7 separate regions of the Homo sapiens genome follow, and all the other regions are linked to region 1. Evidence: promoter capture Hi-C in 16 types of primary human blood cells and fetal thymus (Javierre and others, 2016). All regions are on one chromosome and are shown on one strand. Each heading gives the region's core, a stretch centred on a gene start or on the middle of the fragment in contact. The rest is flanking DNA. Distances are from core to core; before and after follow the strand shown.

Region 1 (2,507 bases), core at 1-2,500:
GGACGCGGCGGCCGCCCGGCCCACCAGCTGCGCTAGGAGCAGCAGCAACAGCGAGGGCGGCGCGGATGGGTCAGGCCGAGCCATCGCCCCCTCCCTCCCCTCGCCTCCAGCAGCCCGCGAGGGACGCACACAGGCAGAGGAATCCGGGCCGGGGCTTCTCCCTCCGGCGTCTCGTGTGTGGCGCCGGGGCTGGCAACCTGTTGGTTGCTTTTTCCTTTAAAGAAAACCGTCCAAAGATAAACTGCTTCGGGAAGGCGCTGCCTCCGCTGGCAGCGCTCCGCTCCTCGCCGGATAGGGCTGGGGAGAGACGGTTAGGGCTCGGATTCCAGGGAAAGGACTCTTTAAAAAAGAAGGGGGAGAAGAAAGATTGCAACCACTCCCTGTTGGAGAGGCGTCAACAGTTCGGTCCCCGCGAGCTGTCTCCAAATCTCTTAAGTTAACCCCTTTCCTTTCCTCCCCGCTCCGCCTCCTGTAACCAAACTACCGACTCCCCCACCCTCTCTTTCCAAGCTGGGCCCTTCAGGCAGTGCCCGGAGACCAGAACCCTCAGCTTCCCGGAAAAGGGCACAGGAAACGGGAGAAGAACAGGGAGAAAGGGAAGGTTCTCACCTCCACGGATCCCGCCGAGAAGAGCAGACAGTCCCCAGCCAGCCTGGGTCCTCCGTCCCTGGGTCACTCCGCTGAGAAGCGCGACTCAGAGCCGGGCTGGCGCCCGGAAAGTTTAGCGACAGGCTGGGTACCCGTGGCAGCGGCACATGGCAGCAGGTGGGGGCGACTCAGAGTGGGGGGCGCCCCCAGAACAGGGGCGGCGCAGGCCGGTCACTCGCCCTCTCCTCCTCGGGAGCCCCCCGCATGATCCAGACGGAGCCGGGCAGGGGCAGGCCGTGCGTTCTCCCCGGGGCCGGGAGCCGGACGGAGGGCGAGCGCGCCTGGCAGCACCTGGGCGGGAGGAAGGCGGGAGGCGGGGGCCGTGGGACCCCGCCGCCTCACAGCACCGCGAGCAGCCGGCGCTGGCCAGGCCGGGACTGCATGGTGAGCGCCGGCCGCCGCGTCCCGCCCGCCGCTCGCCTCCTCCCCTGCAGGGGGCTCCGCGCTCCAGTGGACTCCTGGGGGCGGTGGCGACGCTCTCGGGACGTGCCCTGCTCGGCTCCTCCCCCGCGCTCTCGCACCCTTTCGCCCACCTCTGGCGAGCACGGAACCGCGCGCGGCGGCGACCACAGCGGACTCACGGCCGCAGGCTGGCTGCCCTCTCCCGCCCCGCCCGGGTCACCTGCTTCTAATGCCCGCCGGGAAGCCCCGCCCCGGCTCCGCCCCCTCAGGCCCGGGCGCGGTTGGTGGGCCGCCTCGCCAAGCTCTCCGCGCGTCCCCGCCCACTGCCCCGCGGGCTCGGCCTTTCCCCCGGCGCCCTCTGGCCCCGCCAGGAGCGGGCAGCCAAGGAGCGCTGACCAATCGCGGGCCTGGAGGAGATGGGGGCGGGGCGAATGCTAATCATGCCGCTCTGGGCACCCGGGCGGGAAGCCCTTGCCAGAAGTCCCTCCGGAGTTCTCTGCCCGCGCCCTGGGTGCAGGACTCGCTCCTGTAACTTCCTGGCTTATGCACCTTTGCTCCCAGGGCCCCTGCCCTTTCTGCCTGCAGCTAAGCGTCCTTACAGAGTTCAGTGCTTCTTTGAAAGAACTGCTCAAGGAATCACTCTTAGGCGTGGCTGTCTCCCTTCCGAGCTGTCTTGGAACTGTGTGAAAGAAGAGAGGATACTTACTGAGCCCTTTACTGTGTGCCCAACAAAGTGTTAATCGGTTACATCCTTTTTTTTTTTTTTTTTTTTTGAGACGAGTTGTTCTGTCTCCCAGGCTGGAGTGCAGTGGCGCGATCTCGGCTCACTGCAACCTCTGTCTCCCGGGTTCAAGCGATTATCCTGCCTCAGCCTCCTGCGTAGCTGGGATTACTGGCGCCCGCCACCACGCCCAGCTAATTTTTGTATTTTTGGTAGAGACGGGCTTTCACCATGTAAGGCTGTTCTCGAACTCCTGACACCGTGATCTGCCCGCCTCGGCCTCCCAAAATGCTGGGATTACAGGTGTGAGCCACCGCGCCCGGCCCGTTTACATCTTAAGACAAGATCTCACTCCTTACAACAATTCTGAGGCAGGTACTTCCTACAGGTGAAGAAACCGAGACTGAGACTTGGCCAAGGCAACCGAGCTAATCATAGTTCCCCCAAGAAAGGGCGACCTCGGCAAGCAAGTTCACCTCCGTATTCCGATCACCTGGCACATAGTAGCCGCCCAAATGGCAACCCTGGGATTCGAACCCAGGTAGTTGGTCAGCGGCACTCACCATCGTAGCCGCCCCTCCCCCCATACTATCGCAGCCTCCCTGGCTTCGACCTTTACTTTTGCATCTCTTAACAAAATCTTGTTGTGACAAGAAAATGGATTTCTTTCTGCCTTTAGAAGACCCAGAAAGATGTGAGTCCTTTATTGGTCGAGGTTTATAATCCCAGGCAGTTC
Region 2 (2,507 bases), core at 6-2,505, 510 kb after region 1:
TTTCCTAGGTTGTTTATAGCAGGACTTAACTTTCCTGCTATTTGGAATAGTAAGATACTATTTGAAATAGTCAGGTACTGTTTAGAGTAAATAAAACTCTTACCTCGGTAGTGAAAGAATTTATTGACACCTGAAAAAATTCTTAAACGTCTCATTAAACTTTAATTTAGGCAAGGCACAGATTTCTTGACTATTTTTTGATTAATTACTTGCTTGGGTTTCAGCAGACAACAGTTTGCAACATCCCCAGGAGAACACAGGTTAGTTTCCACTTTGTGAATGAATTCTGCATCTGTTCTTGGGGTGCTAGTGAAATGTGATATGCATGCCTCTGGCTGCAGAACTCTGTCAACTCCATTATTGGGCTGCCACTTGCTCTTGGCCTTCTGTCCTTGTTGGGGTGCAAACTGTCAGTGTGGCTGAATAAGCTGAGCTCCTCTCATCTGTCTGTTTTCCATTCTGGTCTACTACACAGTCATCTCCTTCATTTTCATGCTCTTCTGATGAGTATGGGCTGGGGATTGGTGTCAGAATTGAGAGATTAGAAAAAGAGAGGTGGTTTATGTTTTATTTCTGTCAGATTTTTCAACTTGGAGTGGTTTGCCTAAGTCAAGGTGACAAAGGAAGTGGGAGGTGGCATGATAGAGGGGAAGGGATGCAGCATTGGGAATTAGATGCCCCAGAACACCAGATCTCGTCTGGTGTGGCTGATCTTCCCCCAGATAGTGGTGGTTGGCAGAAGGATATTTTATTGTGAGTTCAGACTTGGTCAGCCAGAACAAAGAGAAACTGAGCAAAAGTAGAGTTTCTACCCGAGGACTGGCACAGAGCTGGCTGCATCACCTGCACAGGTTTTCTAGGGCAGTGAGCCTCAGCCAGGGTTACATCAGCCATTTGGAGGGAAGAATCAGAAGATGGGGAGTGGGAGAGGGAGAAAGAAAGGAGCTCTCCTTTTATTCCAGATAATCTCTATTTTAACTTTTAACCTCAATAAACTCTCCTTAGCTCTTGAATCTGACTCACAACAACACTCTTTTTGTTGAGGGAGCTGTTTTGACTAAATCCCATGCTGAATTGAGTGTAGGATTTTTTTATTTCTAAAATCAAGTTAGACTAAAATGTAATATTTTAGGAGTTACAAATTGGCAGCCTGCCAAACCTTGCCATTGGTATTATGATCAACTTGAACTTTAATATCTCCAGGTGGAGCCTTTACTGTCTAGTTTCCTTACTGTCCTTCTCAAGTCTGCTTGATTATTTGATTCTATCTTGAAGGCATTTGAGCTTCAGAAGCCTGGTGTTATTTGGCCAGTCAAGTTCTTTTCCCTATTAAAAGGGCTGTAATTCTATAATTTACTAGCTTTCCGACCTTAGGAAAGTTATTTAATTTTCTAATGTTCATTTTGCAAGAGAAGCAGCTAAGGCTATTTGCCTAAGGGCATAGAGCTAGACCAGATTTTCTCTCTGGGTTTCTTTCATCTTCAGCCAACATCTGTGATTCTCTTGGTTCCAAGAAGGGTCTCACTCATCCTTTTTCAGCGGATGATGCTATTACTACTTTCTTATATTCCTAATTGGCTAAATGCCAGGGACTTCACAAGTTTTTGCCTGCTGCACGGAAGCACAGCCATTATGTTTCCAGTAGCTTCATCTGTCTTCTTTTTCAATTTGTAGATCATGGGGAGTTGTTTTTTGTTTTGAGACTCAAGTTTAGTTATTCTAATACAGTAGCAACACATCTGAGGTATGTGCTAAAATTAAGATATAACTTTATAGAAAGATAAAAGTTGCCAAAGTTTTCTAAAATAGGTACAATTTTGGTAGTTACTTCAGTGATTACATTATCTTGGGAAATTCTTTGTAAACTTTAGATCCCAACCTCTCATTTCTTTGTAATTCTTTTTTTTCCCTCCCAGCCAAAACAGCACCTATCTAGCAAATGGTGAGTTTGAGGAAGATTCAGAGTGGGGTATTTTCCAGTTTACTTTGCCATAGGTTATCAGTTTGATGGGTTTAAGCTAATAGGATGTTCATCCTTTTTGTCAAAACGTCTTTGCTTCATGCTTAGGTTTTGTAACTGCCAGAAATAGGCAGAAACTTCAGTTGTAATTTTGGTCTAAATTAAGGAAATAATAAGTGACAACTTTGGTGGGCATACCCTATTTTGGCCATGAGGCTGGAATTTGGGCTTATTAGTGATAGATTTGGCTTCAGTATTGCTATGTCAGGTATAAATGATCCTTTCCTATTTGGAGCTGTGGGGTTGGGGAAGTGACAGGGAAGGATAGGATTGGAGTTTTAGCAATTTTCTGGCAGTTTTAATTTGCTTGGACATAGGTCAGGTTTTACCATGGCAAAATTTGCCATCCTGGATGTTGTGAAGTCTGTCAGAATCTTTGAAGGCTGGGCTATTAAACTTCTTTCTGATCATCTTCTGTATGAGACTTTGGATATATGGTCTACAGATATAGACAGAACTGAACTGTTTGATCCTATTGCTTACCTGT
Region 3 (2,507 bases), core at 8-2,507, 490 kb after region 1:
AAGACCAGTTAAACACTGTACTGCCACATCAAAGAAAGTACAGAAGAAGGGGGAAAATTTGCTAATTCTCACCTTGACAGTGAATAGATTTCTTATCACCCCAGTTCCTCCCAGTCTTGCAGACTCAACTGAATGTAGTTTATCGCCTAAAACAAAACAAGGAATAAAAGTGTTAACATACAGAACACTCACAGGAGAATTTAGCTGTTTTTAGTACCTGCCAGACAGCCCAGTTTATCCGGTTTAAAGTACAGTGCTGAGTGTACTCGGTGGGACAAAGGCCAATTTTAGGCCCGCAGGCACTTTCCAAATAAAGGTCATGGGAGCACAATTTATCTCTGCGTGTGCGAGGGCGTGCCCCCGCTTCGCCGCCCGTTAGCAGGTCTTGGGGTTTGCATGTCCTTGCTCTTGGCCTGCACCCGTCCTTATGGCCGTTGTGCAAGAGGGCTGCAATCAAGGCTGGATCGGTACCTCCTTCCAGGTCTCCACGCCCGCCCCTCCCCTCCCCTCCCCTCGCTGGTGCTGGGACCTTTTAAACTCCAGGCACCCGGAACTGGCGGGGGTGTTTCCCCCAGCCCCCTCTCGCCCCGTGTGGCCTAGCGACCCCTCTGAAGGCCGCTGGAGCTCCGCCCCTCCACGCCCCCTGGCGGACGCGAGGGATCGGCTTCAAGGCTATTCCTCGCCGCCTGAGTTGCCTGCAGACGCCCGTCTGCGGCTTACAGCCTTCTTTGCATCCAGCCCCCAGCTGCTGCACGTTTTCTTCCTCCTACACTCCAGGCTTAGTCTTCTACATGCATTCTTGCAACTTCCACCCCTCGATTTTCCAACCCAAGTGCAGACCTGATTTTCCCCTTGTCGTTGCATCCAACTTCCTCACCGCCCAGTTTCTCCCTCCCAGGCCCAAAAGCAGACCTTCTGCATATCCAAGCATCCAGCATCCCCTCCTTCCCTTTTCTTTTCCCATTCTCAATACCTGGATTTGTTCCCTTCTTTGCACGCAGGCCTTGACTCCCTCCACACCCAAGATCTGCGCTTTTTTCCTTTACCCCATTCCTGCCTTCTGCGGAATTAGAGCCACCCCTCCACAGCCAGGGACCGGGGCCGCCCCTTGGAGCCTGAGGTTACCTGCCGGGATGATATGCTGGCGAAGAGTTGGGGCGCCACAGCCGCTCACAAGCTCAGACTCACAACCACAGCCTGGCAATCCCAAACCGGACTCCCAGTGCCTCCGCTTCTGAAGTAGACTCTGCAGAAACCCGGGACCACAGGGTAGGTCCGAGCTTTTCCTCTTCCCGGCTTTGTCCCCTCCCAGGCCCCGCCTCCTCAGCCCACCTCCCCCAGCCCCGCCCCCGACACGCCTCCAATCGCCACACGCCAATTCCCGTGGGATGGGCGGAGTCAGCGAGAGGGGCGTGGCCACAGTCAAAGATGGAGAATCCATGGTGCCACTTTCCCGGTGATCCCGGTGGGGGAAGGGGTTGCCGCCCGGCAGAGATTCAGTCCCGAATCCCGACAGCGAAGAGACTTGTATGCCACCTGCAGGCCGGGGAGCGGGGCGCGCTGGGGCTGCACCACCCCGAACTTTGTAACAATCTAGAGCACCACAGAGTGTTTCCAGGTCGGCACAAAAGCGAACGGGACAGGGCGCCCTGGGCGGCGGCAGCTTGGCCGGCCCGCTGCCTAGCGCGCCCCCGAGGGGCGGTAATGGAACGTACCTTTGGCTGAAGAAAGAGTGCTCCCGGCCAGCGCGGGGTCGCCTAGGGGGTTCCGCGCTGCCTAATGCAAAGGATGGAAAAGTTACAGAAGCAGGTCCTGACACCACCTATGTCTAGGTCTTTAGAAACTCCATTGATTGTTTGCATTAGAAGATAATGAATGGGATTCTTATTATTTTCTTTTTTAAGACAGGGCCTTGCTCTGTTGCCCTGGCTGGAGTGCAGTGGAGCGATCACCGCTCACTGCAGCCTTGACTTCCTGGGCTCAAGAGATCCTCCCACCTCAGCCTTCCGAGTAGCTGGGATTACAGGTGCACACAATCACACTCAACTAATTTTTCTTTCTTTCTTTTCTTTTCTTTTTCCTTTGGTAGAGATGGGTTTCAGCAGCCCAGGCTGGTCTCGAACTCCTGGACTCAAGTGATTGGCCCTCCTCGGCCTCCCAAAGTCCTGGGATTACAAGCGTGAGCCACCATGCTCAGTTGGCGGGGGATTATCTGTGATCCAATGAAGTTGGACTAGAGATGTGAAGCCTTAGAAAACGGTGGATTGAAAAAAGAATTTTAGTCTCCTCCAGAGATTATATTTTGTGTGTTCATTGCTCTCAAAAACATGAAAATAAAGAGTATTTTATATTGTGATTTGTAGGACAATAGCATGCTTGTATATTGCTGCCCAGAATTTAATGCTCCAATATTTATTTATTTATTTATTTATTTATGAGACAGAGTCTTGCCCTGACAGGCTGGTGCAGTCTCGGCTCACTGCAACTTCCGCCTCCTGGGTTCAAGT
Region 4 (2,507 bases), core at 4-2,503, 340 kb after region 1:
ACCCTATAAAGGAACTACTCTCATCAGCCCTTTTTACAGATGACGTAAAAGAAATAGCCACCTAGCCTATGGCCACCTGAGAGCAAGGAATTAATCTGTTGCTGTTTCATCACCTGTGGCATAGACGCTCTGAGCTAATGCCACGCACAACTTATTCCCAGTAGAGGTGAATTTGACTTTAGCAAAATAAAATAAAATGACCAGTTAAAAGCACTGCATCACATACTTTTTCAGTGGGAGGAAACCTTACGCATGTTAATAAAGGAAAAGAGAATATAGTTAGAGCCAGAAAAAAGAAGCCTGCCATCGCATCCCATCGCCTGTCGTGTGAATCATCCACGTGGATCACTGATGCGACTCGAGGGCACGGAAGGGCCCGGGTGGGACTGCACTCACGTGGGGGATGAGGCGGCAGGAGCGGACCGAGTCGCTGAGGCCCATCCACTGCTGGTGGTCGGCATAGTCGCCGCGGCGCAGGAACTACTGGAGGCCCGAGTAGTTGGGCTGCTCATAGAGCACCCAGCAGCCGCTGTCCACGCGCACCGAGTTGCAGCGGCTCAAGTAGGGCTGCAGGTTGGGGTGGTCGCTGCTGCATTCGTAGTGGCGGCCCTGGAAGCCCCGGTCCTCGTAGAGGGTGATCTGCAAGGCAAGGCGAGGCAAGGCGAGGTCTCACAGGCCTGCCCCTGCCCCAGTCTCCGGCCCCCGCCATGCAGGGAGCTACCGGGGGGCACGGGCTGGGCTCACCTTCCCCATGGCTGGCTGGGCGCACGGCGGGGCTGAGCGGGTGGGGCGGCAGCGCGGCGGGGCTATATAGCAGGAGGGCTGCTGTGTTGGCAAGAACCGCACAAAAGGGGCCCCCGGAGGGGAGCAAGGGCATTTTTTTTTCTCTCTCTCTCTGTTCCATATAATGACTGTAGGGGAGGGGGTGGGAGGTTTATTGTATGTTTTCTTTTAGACTCTCTAAAGCTTTCGAATTGATGATCTGGTTAAAACTGTCACTTAGTGCCATTTGGGCCTTTACATAAAGCCTATTTGGGAAATTGGAATTGAGCAAGTGCTTAAGAGTTAGTAATTGTAATTAAATGTTTTATTTACCTTTTAAAAGTTCAGTTTGAGCAACAAAGCAGAATAGCGACCAAGTCTAAGGTCGAAATAGACTACAGCATGAGGCTGTATTGTTTAGATTGGTGTGAAATGTGAAACGTGAGGATGAACTTGCCTTCTCCTCGGGCTGTTTACAGTAGGATGTGATTCTCCTTTAAGAGAACCTCTCTATGATCCTACCTGCTGATAAGCAGGGTATCAGATAACTAATGCAGGAGGTTGGACGCCAGGGGTTGGGCCTGGGGAAGCCCTATTTAGGCACCTGGCCTCAGCTCTGATCCCTGGAGCCTGGGTGGAAGCAGGGAAGTCTTCAGCTTCAGCACCGTGCCTGCCTCAGCACAGGCAATGAAACTCTCAACTGTGGGATTCATGAAGTGACACTTTGGCGGTTATTACACTGGTAACTTTCTATTTAACAACTTTGCTAACTAAAGGCTAAGCTTAGTTGGTTCTAGCTGCTGACAAATGCAAGTTAACATGCAAATATAACACATTGAAGATCCTGCAATCTTGCAAAGATTCTGCCTTCTTCACCCTGGGGCAAAACCCTCGTGGCTCTCTAGTTAAGGCTCTGACTCCAGGGACTGGGGTCTTCCTTCCTTTTGCCGGGACCCTGTCCCTCCTGGTGTTCCACTCTCTTTAGAGCAAGGTTTCTCAACCGCAGCACTCTTTTGACATTTGGGGCCCAAAAAATTATCTGCTGGGTGGGGAGGCTGTCCTGTGCATTGCAGGACATTGAGCAGCATCCTGGCCTCTACCATCTGGGTACCGGTAGCATTACTGTCCGGTCGTGACAAGCAGAACTGTCTGCAGACATTGCCAAAGGTTCCCTGGAAAGCAAATCCACTCCCCATCCGCACTAAGAACCACTGATTTAGAATAACTTTGGTGCACCCAGTCTCACTCCTTAGTTTGGATTCTTGCTACCTAAGTCTAATACTAAAAAATAGCTTTCTCTGGACAAATTTTATGTGATCCACGTAAGTTTAATAAGCCTCATTTACATATTTCTCTTTTAAAAATTATAACTTTTGTGGAAAATTTAGAAACTATAAAGCAGTAGAAAGGAGAAAAGATTTTAAGCCGTAGTTTTGTATAAAAAGTAGCACTGTTGATGTATATTTAAAAACTCCTAATTCTCACACCTGTGATCTAATATTTCCATCTCTAGGAATTTGTCCAATGGAAAAAATTAAAGATGCATACAAAGATTATGAACAGTGATATTTTATCAGAATGGTGTTTATAATATAGAAAATTAGATACAAATAAAATGTCCAGAATAGGGCATTGTTTAAATAAATCATGGAACACTTGTTTGATGAGATGCTATGCAGCTACCAAAAATCATGTTGTCAAAGAATTTATTTAAGGGTATGGAAAATGCTTACCATATGTCAAGT
Region 5 (2,507 bases), core at 4-2,503, 320 kb after region 1:
TTAACATTTGAATCAGTAGACTCGGTAAAGAAAATTAAGTTCATCAATACAATAATTTTATCATTTTATGGATAATTTTATCCTTTTAGGGCCCAAATAGGTCAAAAAAGTAGAGGAGGGTGAATTCACTCTGTTTGAGCTGGGACATCTGTCTTTCTCTGCCATCAGACATCAGTGCTCTTGGTTTTCAGGCCTTTGGGTCTGAACTGGAGCATACACCATTAGCTCTCCTGTTTCTCAGGCCTTCAGACTTGGACTTCAGAGTTCCAGTGGAATTGCATCACCAGTTTTCTGGTTCTCCAGTTTACAAACAGCAAATTGTGGGACTTCTCAGCCTTCATAATCACATGAGCCAATCCTCACTACAAATCTCCTCTTATATACACATATGTTGTTGGTTCTAGTTCTCTGGAGAACCCTGAAGAGACCTGGCCATTCAAAGGCATGGGATAATTTGTAGATAACTCTAAGGCTTGCCTTTAAGAGATCAGTAAGTTCATTGGCCCTATTTTCTACACAGCTCATGATAGAAAAATCTTAAAACTTTACACAATAATTCCATTCCAGGGTCTACTTACCTTTACCAACAGGAAGTGCTTATCTAACCTGAAATTTTTCAGTACACTTTTTTTTAAACAGTCTAAATTTATTTATTTATTTGTAGATTACTCTAAGGCTTGCCTTTAAGAGATCAGTAAGTTTATTGGCCCTATTTTCTACATAGCTCATGATAGAAAAATCTTAAAACTTTACATAATAATTCCATTCCAGGGTCTACTCACCTTTACCAACAGGAAGTGCTTATCTAACCTGAAATTTTTCAGTCATATTTTTTAAAACAGTCTAAATTTATTTATTTATTTATTTATTTATTTATTTGAGATGGAGTTTTGCTCTTGTCACCCAGGCTGGAGTGCAATGGCACAGTCTTGGCTCACTGCAACCTCCGCCTCCCAGATTCAAGCAACTCTCCTGCCTCAGCCTTCCCAGTAGCTGGGACTACAGGCACCCACCACCATGCCCAGCTGACTTTTGTATTTTTGGTAGAGACAGGGTTTCACTATGTTGGCCAGGCTGGTCTCGAACTCCTGACCTCAGGTGATCCACCCGCCTCGGCCTCCCAAAGTGCTGGGATTACAGGCATGAGCCACCATGCCAGGCTTAAAACAGTCTAAATTTCAAGGAAGAAGAAACATGTTCTACTTCATAAAGCTGCATGTGATAGGGTGCTAACTGGGAAATCGGAGATGCTCTCCATAGACTCCACTGTCAGTGTCTGTGTTCCTAGTGAATGAGGGAGCCAGTGACTAGTTTGCCTGTTTGTTAGCAGGAGTGTCTGCTACATGCTGTGGCATGAAGCAAGTTATCAATTTTCTTTGGACTTTGTAGTGAGCATACTCAGGTGATGAGCACTTGTTTTTTTTTTTCTTTCTTCTTCTTCTTCTTATTATACTTTAAGTTCTAGGGTACACGTGAACAACATGCAGGTTTGTTACATATGTATACATGTGCAATGTTGGTGGAGCACTTGTTTTGTTTTGATTTTTCTTCTTGGAATCCATTCTACCTTCAAGTACTCCTCTTTTCCTTAGAAAACAGACCTCATCTCAATAAAAATATAAATAAAAATTAATTAATTAATTTCAATCAATTAAATTTGTTAATTAAAGAAATTTTTCCAGCTTATATTTTCAAAAGTAATGAAGTTTTGTGAACATTTTCAATAGCCCAACCTAAATTTATAATTGAAGATAAAGTAGACTGCTTCAAGAAGTCTAAATGAACAGAAATCTCTCTTGCTAAAGATAAGTGTTCAATGCTTTGCATTTAATCCCCAAAATACTTTAGATCCAACTTTGCTTAGAGAACACCCAGTAAAAGATAAGCAACAGCTGTTATGTTTGACCTACATGTGACCTCTTCCTCATTCTCATTCCATGTGGCTTAAGTCTCATTGACTCTATCTCCCAACTCCAGGGTTTGCTTCAGCCATTTAGAGTATTCTAAGGCTGAAACAGTTGAGGACCACTGAATTAGTCAGGGTTCTTCAGAGAAACAGAGCCAATGGGATGGATGGATAGAGAGATAGATAGACAGATAGATGAAAGAGGATTTATTATGGGAATTGACTCCTGTGATTATGGAGGCTTAGGAGTCCCCTGACAGGCTACCTGCAAGGTAGAGAACCAGGGAAGCTGGTAGCATGGCTCAGTCCAAGTCCAAAGGTCTGAGAACCAAGAGAGCCATTGGTGTAACTCTGGGTCTGAGACCAAAGTCCAGAGAAACTGAGGGACTGCTGGTGCAAATCCTGGAGTCCAAAGGCCAGAGAACCTGGAGTTCTGATGTCCAAGGGCAGGAGAAGATGGTGTCGCAGTTGCAGAAGAGAGAGCAAATTCAGCTTTCCTCTGCCTTCTGGTTCTGTTTGGACCCTTAACTAATCAGATGGTGCCCACCCACATTGGGTGAGGATGGGTCTTCCTTACTCTACTGATTTAAAAGCCAATTTC
Region 6 (2,507 bases), core at 4-2,503, 300 kb after region 1:
ACTCCAGCCTGGGCGACAGAGAGAGACTCTGTCTCCATCAAACAAACAAACAAACAAACAAACAAACAAAACCCAAAACATTTCCAGCCAAAGATCAGGGTTCTGTTTTGCATGTTGGGAAGGGCAGACAGGAATGAGTGGTCAAAGAGGTCTTTTCCTAGGAAGCAACAATTTGGAACTTGAATGATAAGAAGCCTCCAGTTAGATGATGGAAGCAGAATGTTTCAGGCAAGGGAAACAGCAAATGGAAAATGGCAATTTCATGGAAACAAGAAAGTCTGAAACATAATGAGAAGGAAAGGAGATTAGTCTGGGATAATAGATAATGGCTAGACCACACAGGCCTTTACCTGTCAGAGAATTGCTTTCATTTTTTAAAAAACTGAAAATTTTTAATTGCATTGGGATTTTTTTCTTTTTTTTGACTGAGTCTCACTCTATCACCCAGGGTGGAGTGCAGTGGCATGATCTCAGCTCACTGCAACTTCTGCCTCTTGGGTTCAAGTGATTCTCATGCCTCAGCCTCCTGCATAGTTGGGATTACAGGCGTGTGCCACCATGCCTGGCTAATTTTTGTAGTTGTAGTATAGATGAGGTTTCATCATAATGGCCAGGCTGGTCTCAAACTCCTGACCTCAGGTGATCTACCCACCTTGGCCTCCCAAAGTGCTGGGATTACAGGTATGAGCCACTGTACCCAGCCTGCAGTGGGAATTAATTTTAAAGGAAGGAAGTGACATGACTTAGAGTCTCGCTAGTGCTGATATATAGTAGATGTTAAAGAAATCTATCCTTAAGTACGCTGGAAATATCTTGGTTTTTAATCCTGATTACATCCCTAATCATTTAATGGGATGTGGGAAATTATTGATTGTTTTGCCTTATGTCTATAGGCAACATATAAAATTATATTTGTTCATCAGCTGCCTGAATAAAACCAATAATCCATGAGGTAGATCCACAGTAGCATGCTTTCCGTAGAGGATGTGGGGTACAGCAGATATGAGGCACTTGTGTGTTTGTGTGGAGGGGAGTACTAATAAATAAGAAAACGTCACATGTGTATGTATCTGTGCTTGAGGCAGCTCTTTGAGGATGTGTGCAAATCAAGAAAAGGGCTTTTATTTTGATTCCTTTAATTGTGCCTTATTAACTTTTTTTCTTTTTTCTTTATTAAGGTCAGTAGGCATTTGGTAGGAATCTGCATCAAACTGTTGGGCAATGGTAGACAGCAACATTGACGTCTGTAAATTTACACTTGGATTCTTAGTTTCTGGTGAGTAGTTTGTGCTCCTTCAACACTCAGTGAGAGATGATGATAAGCAAACCTTCAGCCTTCAGCTTTCCTGATGCAGTAGGAATTGCCACAAATGCCTGGCTGTGGTCGCCCTCTACTGGACGAATTAAGCCTAACGTTTAAAAGCCACCAGACCACTGTTCCCTTTATAATATCCTCTTCTGCCAAAGCCTACTCACCCTTTAGGTCTGAGAGAGGCCTCTCAGCATCCCCCCTTTCTCTCACCATCTCTGATATGTGTGTTCGTATGACTATTTGATTGACGTCTGTCTCCTCCCTTTCTGCATAGGCTGTAGTCTGCATGAGGGCAGGGACTCTGTTTGCCTCCGAGTGCCTGACACCATTCTTCAATAAATATGTGTTAAATGGATGAATAAAGGAGGAATGAAGGGCCCAAATGTCAAGAGTGAGCCTTTCACACTTCACTCTAGCTGACTGCAGCACGTAGGAGAAAATATAAATTCAAGGCATCTATCCTGCAAATTTTTTTCAAGCAACTTACGCTACTCTTAAAAACCCTGTTTATTAAAGTATTACATATATACAGAAAAGTGCACACATTGTAAGTGTCTAGTTCAATGAATTTTCAAAAACTGGTCACACCCCTGTAACCAGTACACAGATCAAGAAACAGAATGTCACCAGAAACCCAGAAACCCACCCGTGCCCTTGTGATTTTAACAGTATAGAGTTCTTTTGCATGTTTTTATATTTTATAAAAATGAAATCATACAATATGTACTTTTTTGCATCTGGCTTCTTTTCTTCTTTTTTTATTTTTTGTTTTTTTGTTTGTTTGTTTTGTTGTTTTTTTTTTTTTGAGACAGAGTCTCATTCTTGTCGCTGGAGTACAGTGGCATGATCTTGCTCACTGCACCCCCTGGGTTCAAGTGATTCTCATGCCTCAGCCTTCTGAATAGCTGGGACCACAGGCATGCATCACCACACCTGGCTAATTTTTGCATTTTTCTGTAGAGATGGGATTTCGCCATGTTTCCCAGGCTGGTCTTGAACTCATGAGCTCAAGTAATCGGCCTGCCTCAGCCTCCCAAAGTGCTGGGATTACAGGTGGGAGACACCACACCCAGCCTTGAAAACACATTTCAATATTTTGTTAAAGATGAGCAGAAAAGGGCCAGGAGCGGTGGCTCACACCTATAATCCCAGCACTTTGGGAGGCCAAGGTGGGCAGATCACGAGGTCAAGAGTT
Region 7 (2,507 bases), core at 6-2,505, 280 kb after region 1:
CATAAAACATATGCTCTCGTGTGTGGCATTTTTCACTTAGCATAACGTCTTCAAGGCTCATCCATGTTGTAGCACGTGTCAGTTTTTCATTCCTTTTTATGGCTGAATAACAGTCTTTTGTATAGATACAGCACATTTTGTTTATCCATTCATCAGTTGATGAGAATTTGGGTTATTTATACTTTTTGGCAGTTATTTAATAATTCTGCTTTTTATTGCCAGATAATATTTCATTATATGGATATACTCATTATTTTTATATGCAGTTATTTAATTGTGAATGAGACAAAGATTTTAATAGATTTGACCATTTTCTTTTTGATTTGTTTTTACTTACTGAGTTGTACAAGAAGTTGTATATTAATGATTTTCTTTGCTTGCCAAATGTTGCAATATTTTTTCCACTTTGTATATATTCACATTTTTCTCTTCCTTTAAGACTTTAGAATTGTGTGTCTTGCCTAGAAAGTCTTTTTATATTACATCTGTGTAGTGTGGGTATAAAAAATAAAACAAAAAAAATGAAGAAAAAATCTTATTATTTTATTTTACGTTTTCTTTTCTTTTTTTCTTTTTTGAGACAGGGTCTCACTCTGTTGCCCAGGCTGGAGTGCAGTGGCACAATTATAGCTCATTACAGCCTCAACTTCCTGTGTTTAAGCCATCCTCCCACCTCAGCCTCCCAAGTAGCTTGGACTATAGGTGTGCACCACCATGCCTGGCTGGTCTGCAACTCCTGAGCTCTAGCAGTCCTCCCACCTTGACCTCCCAAAGTGCTGGGATTACAGGTGTGGGCCACAGCACCCAGCCTAGAAATTATTTTTAAACTCCTGGATTATATATAAATAAACTCACCAATAAATGAATAAATTTATTTATTTATATATTTATTATATATAAATAAATTCACTCAAAACTCCTAATTATATATAAATTCACCAGTTTTTTAAAAACTCCTAGATTATATACAACTCCTAGATTAACATATATTTCATACTCCAGATTATATATAAATTCACCAACTATATAATCTAATATATATAATAGTAGTTCAAAACCAGTATATGTAACAAGTATAATATATACATATAAGTATATGTGTGTGTATATATATACTTATGCATGTGTATGTGTGTGTGTGTATATATACATATATATACACATATATACACTTACTTGTTTATATTACATTTCTCTCATCCAAGTATTAAGCAGGCCCCCAGACCTAACCCTGCTTAGCTTCTGAGATCAGATAAGATTGGGGGCATTCAGAGTGGTATGGCCATAGAGTATGTATTATATTGCTATCTTTGAATCCTCTGGAAATTTGGGAATATAAAGAGCATGGTAAAGAATCCATTTTATTTTATTTTCCATTCCTAGCCAGTTTTCTCATCACTGTCTATTGATTAATACATCTTCCCTTCTCCCATCCCTCCCCTATAAATTCGACTCATCTACCTTTTTCACACATTAAATCTGTATACGTATTTGGGTTTATTTCTGTTGATTCTCTTCTATTCCATTCTATTCTATTTAGCTATTCTATTTCTTCTCTAGAATAAGATATTTTAATTATTATAACTCCATGATACATTTTAATGTATAGTTGTATTAATTACCCTCTCACTACTCTTGTTTTTCAGAGTTTTTCTAATTGCCCATTTATATGTCTTGAAGAACTTTAGTGTTATTTTTGTCAGGTTGAAAAAAATCACCTTGGTGTTTTATTTGGCATATACATTGAATTTACAGATCATTTAAGGAAATCAATGTCTTTATAATGTGAATAGTCTCTCTTAATGTTGTAGGCAAAGAGGGAAAATCTGAAGAGGAAAAGGAAGAGGAGGAGGAGAAGGAGGTAGAGGAGGGGGAAGAGGGGAATAAGGAAGAAAAAGAGACAATTTCCTTCATAATTCACATTCTAAAATATGACGTAAATTGCATTTCCCTCTGAATAGCACAAAACACTTTTAAAACACCATCTCAGTCTCTAAAACATCTCAGCAGTATGCAATTACTATTGCTAATTGATAGACTAAAAGTTCAAGGCACAAACTTGGCCATGTTCTTTAACTTATATAATCATTCTAAAGTGATTTCTTTTCTTTTGGGTACTTATGAAGAACTGAGTGTAAATCTTTCCTGCCTACAGGTTTTTGGCAGCCCCTGCTGGAGTAAGATTATGTAATGGATAGGGGTAACAGCTCGCATATCTATATGCAAGCAATCTAATTGACAGCGACTTTATTCTGATGTAAGCTACTTTGCGAAAATTTGGACTCTTACCCCAACTTCAACTTTTATCCCACTGTCAAAATTATTTCCAGATTATCCAAAGTGATAGGTAATAAACAGAAAAATAGATTAACACTCATTCTTAGCTTCTTAGACCTCTTAATTTTGAACAGTTTCCTTTGGAGAATTGTAAAATTAAAGGTTATTTTCCCACAATTTTTCTCCTTCTAAATATTTGGATAACACACTAGGGTGACTAAATGGATACT

Evidence for each region. Contacts are between HindIII fragments. The CHiCAGO score rates a contact against its expected background, and 5 or more counts as called.
Region 2: a contact is called between a fragment that was not itself captured here and the fragment with the promoter of FZD5 in region 1, in 1 of 17 cell types (erythroblasts). The highest score is 5.0, in erythroblasts.
Region 3: the fragment with the promoter of IDH1 here is called in contact with the fragment with the promoter of FZD5 in region 1 in 4 of 17 cell types (neutrophils, total CD8 T cells, megakaryocytes and 1 more); the score reaches 6.6 in neutrophils.
Region 4: a contact is called between a fragment that was not itself captured here and the fragment with the promoter of FZD5 in region 1, in 1 of 17 cell types (megakaryocytes). The highest score is 5.1, in megakaryocytes.
Region 5: a fragment that was not itself captured here is called in contact with the fragment with the promoter of FZD5 in region 1 in 6 of 17 cell types (megakaryocytes, erythroblasts, M0 macrophages and 3 more); the score reaches 10.6 in megakaryocytes.
Region 6: a contact is called between a fragment that was not itself captured here and the fragment with the promoter of FZD5 in region 1, in 13 of 17 cell types (megakaryocytes, erythroblasts, M1 macrophages and 10 more). The highest score is 32.8, in megakaryocytes.
Region 7: a contact is called between a fragment that was not itself captured here and the fragment with the promoter of FZD5 in region 1, in 9 of 17 cell types (megakaryocytes, M0 macrophages, M2 macrophages and 6 more). The highest score is 15.7, in megakaryocytes.

The regions. Positions count from the first base shown.
Region 1 is chr2:207,768,656-207,771,162 of GRCh38, forward strand. It overlaps FZD5 (frizzled class receptor 5), which reads right to left and starts at 1,251. Exons shown (of 2, transcript NM_003468.4): 1 at 610-1,251; 2 at 1-339. The coding sequence starts at 84. RefSeq lists silencers at 2-61, 472-531, 872-1,551 and enhancers at 2,102-2,151, 2,316-2,507. The HindIII fragment of the contact is 9,976 bases long and covers 1-2,507 here.
Region 2 is chr2:208,273,794-208,276,300 of GRCh38, forward strand. All of the region lies in intron 3 of PIKFYVE (phosphoinositide kinase, FYVE-type zinc finger containing), which reads left to right. Among named protein-coding and RNA genes, the nearest start is that of PIKFYVE, 8.8 kb to the left of the region's middle. The HindIII fragment of the contact is 3,746 bases long and covers 1-2,507 here.
Region 3 is chr2:208,253,814-208,256,320 of GRCh38, forward strand. IDH1 (isocitrate dehydrogenase (NADP(+)) 1) reads right to left here and starts at 1,258. Exons shown (of 10, transcript NM_005896.4): 1 at 1,126-1,258; 2 at 73-146. It overlaps IDH1-AS1 (IDH1 antisense RNA 1), which reads left to right and starts at 1,420. Exons shown (of 2, transcript NR_046452.1): 1 at 1,420-1,618; 2 at 2,090-2,381. RefSeq lists a silencer at 403-512 and an enhancer at 966-1,492. The HindIII fragment of the contact is 4,060 bases long and covers 1-2,507 here.
Region 4 is chr2:208,111,870-208,114,376 of GRCh38, forward strand. It overlaps the pseudogene CRYGEP. Among named protein-coding and RNA genes, the nearest start is that of CRYGD, 11 kb to the right of the region's middle. RefSeq lists an enhancer at 1-361. The HindIII fragment of the contact is 578 bases long and covers 965-1,542 here.
Region 5 is chr2:208,090,373-208,092,879 of GRCh38, forward strand. No RefSeq gene overlaps it. Among named protein-coding and RNA genes, the nearest start is that of CRYGD, 33 kb to the right of the region's middle. The HindIII fragment of the contact is 3,045 bases long and covers 1-2,507 here.
Region 6 is chr2:208,071,085-208,073,591 of GRCh38, forward strand. It overlaps LOC105373854 (a long non-coding RNA gene), which reads left to right. Exons shown (of 4, transcript XR_923815.3): 3 at 1,179-1,276. Among named protein-coding and RNA genes, the nearest start is that of PLEKHM3, 47 kb to the left of the region's middle. The HindIII fragment of the contact is 3,248 bases long and covers 1-2,507 here.
Region 7 is chr2:208,052,969-208,055,475 of GRCh38, forward strand. It overlaps the pseudogene RNA5SP116. Among named protein-coding and RNA genes, the nearest start is that of PLEKHM3, 29 kb to the left of the region's middle. The HindIII fragment of the contact is 3,051 bases long and covers 1-2,507 here.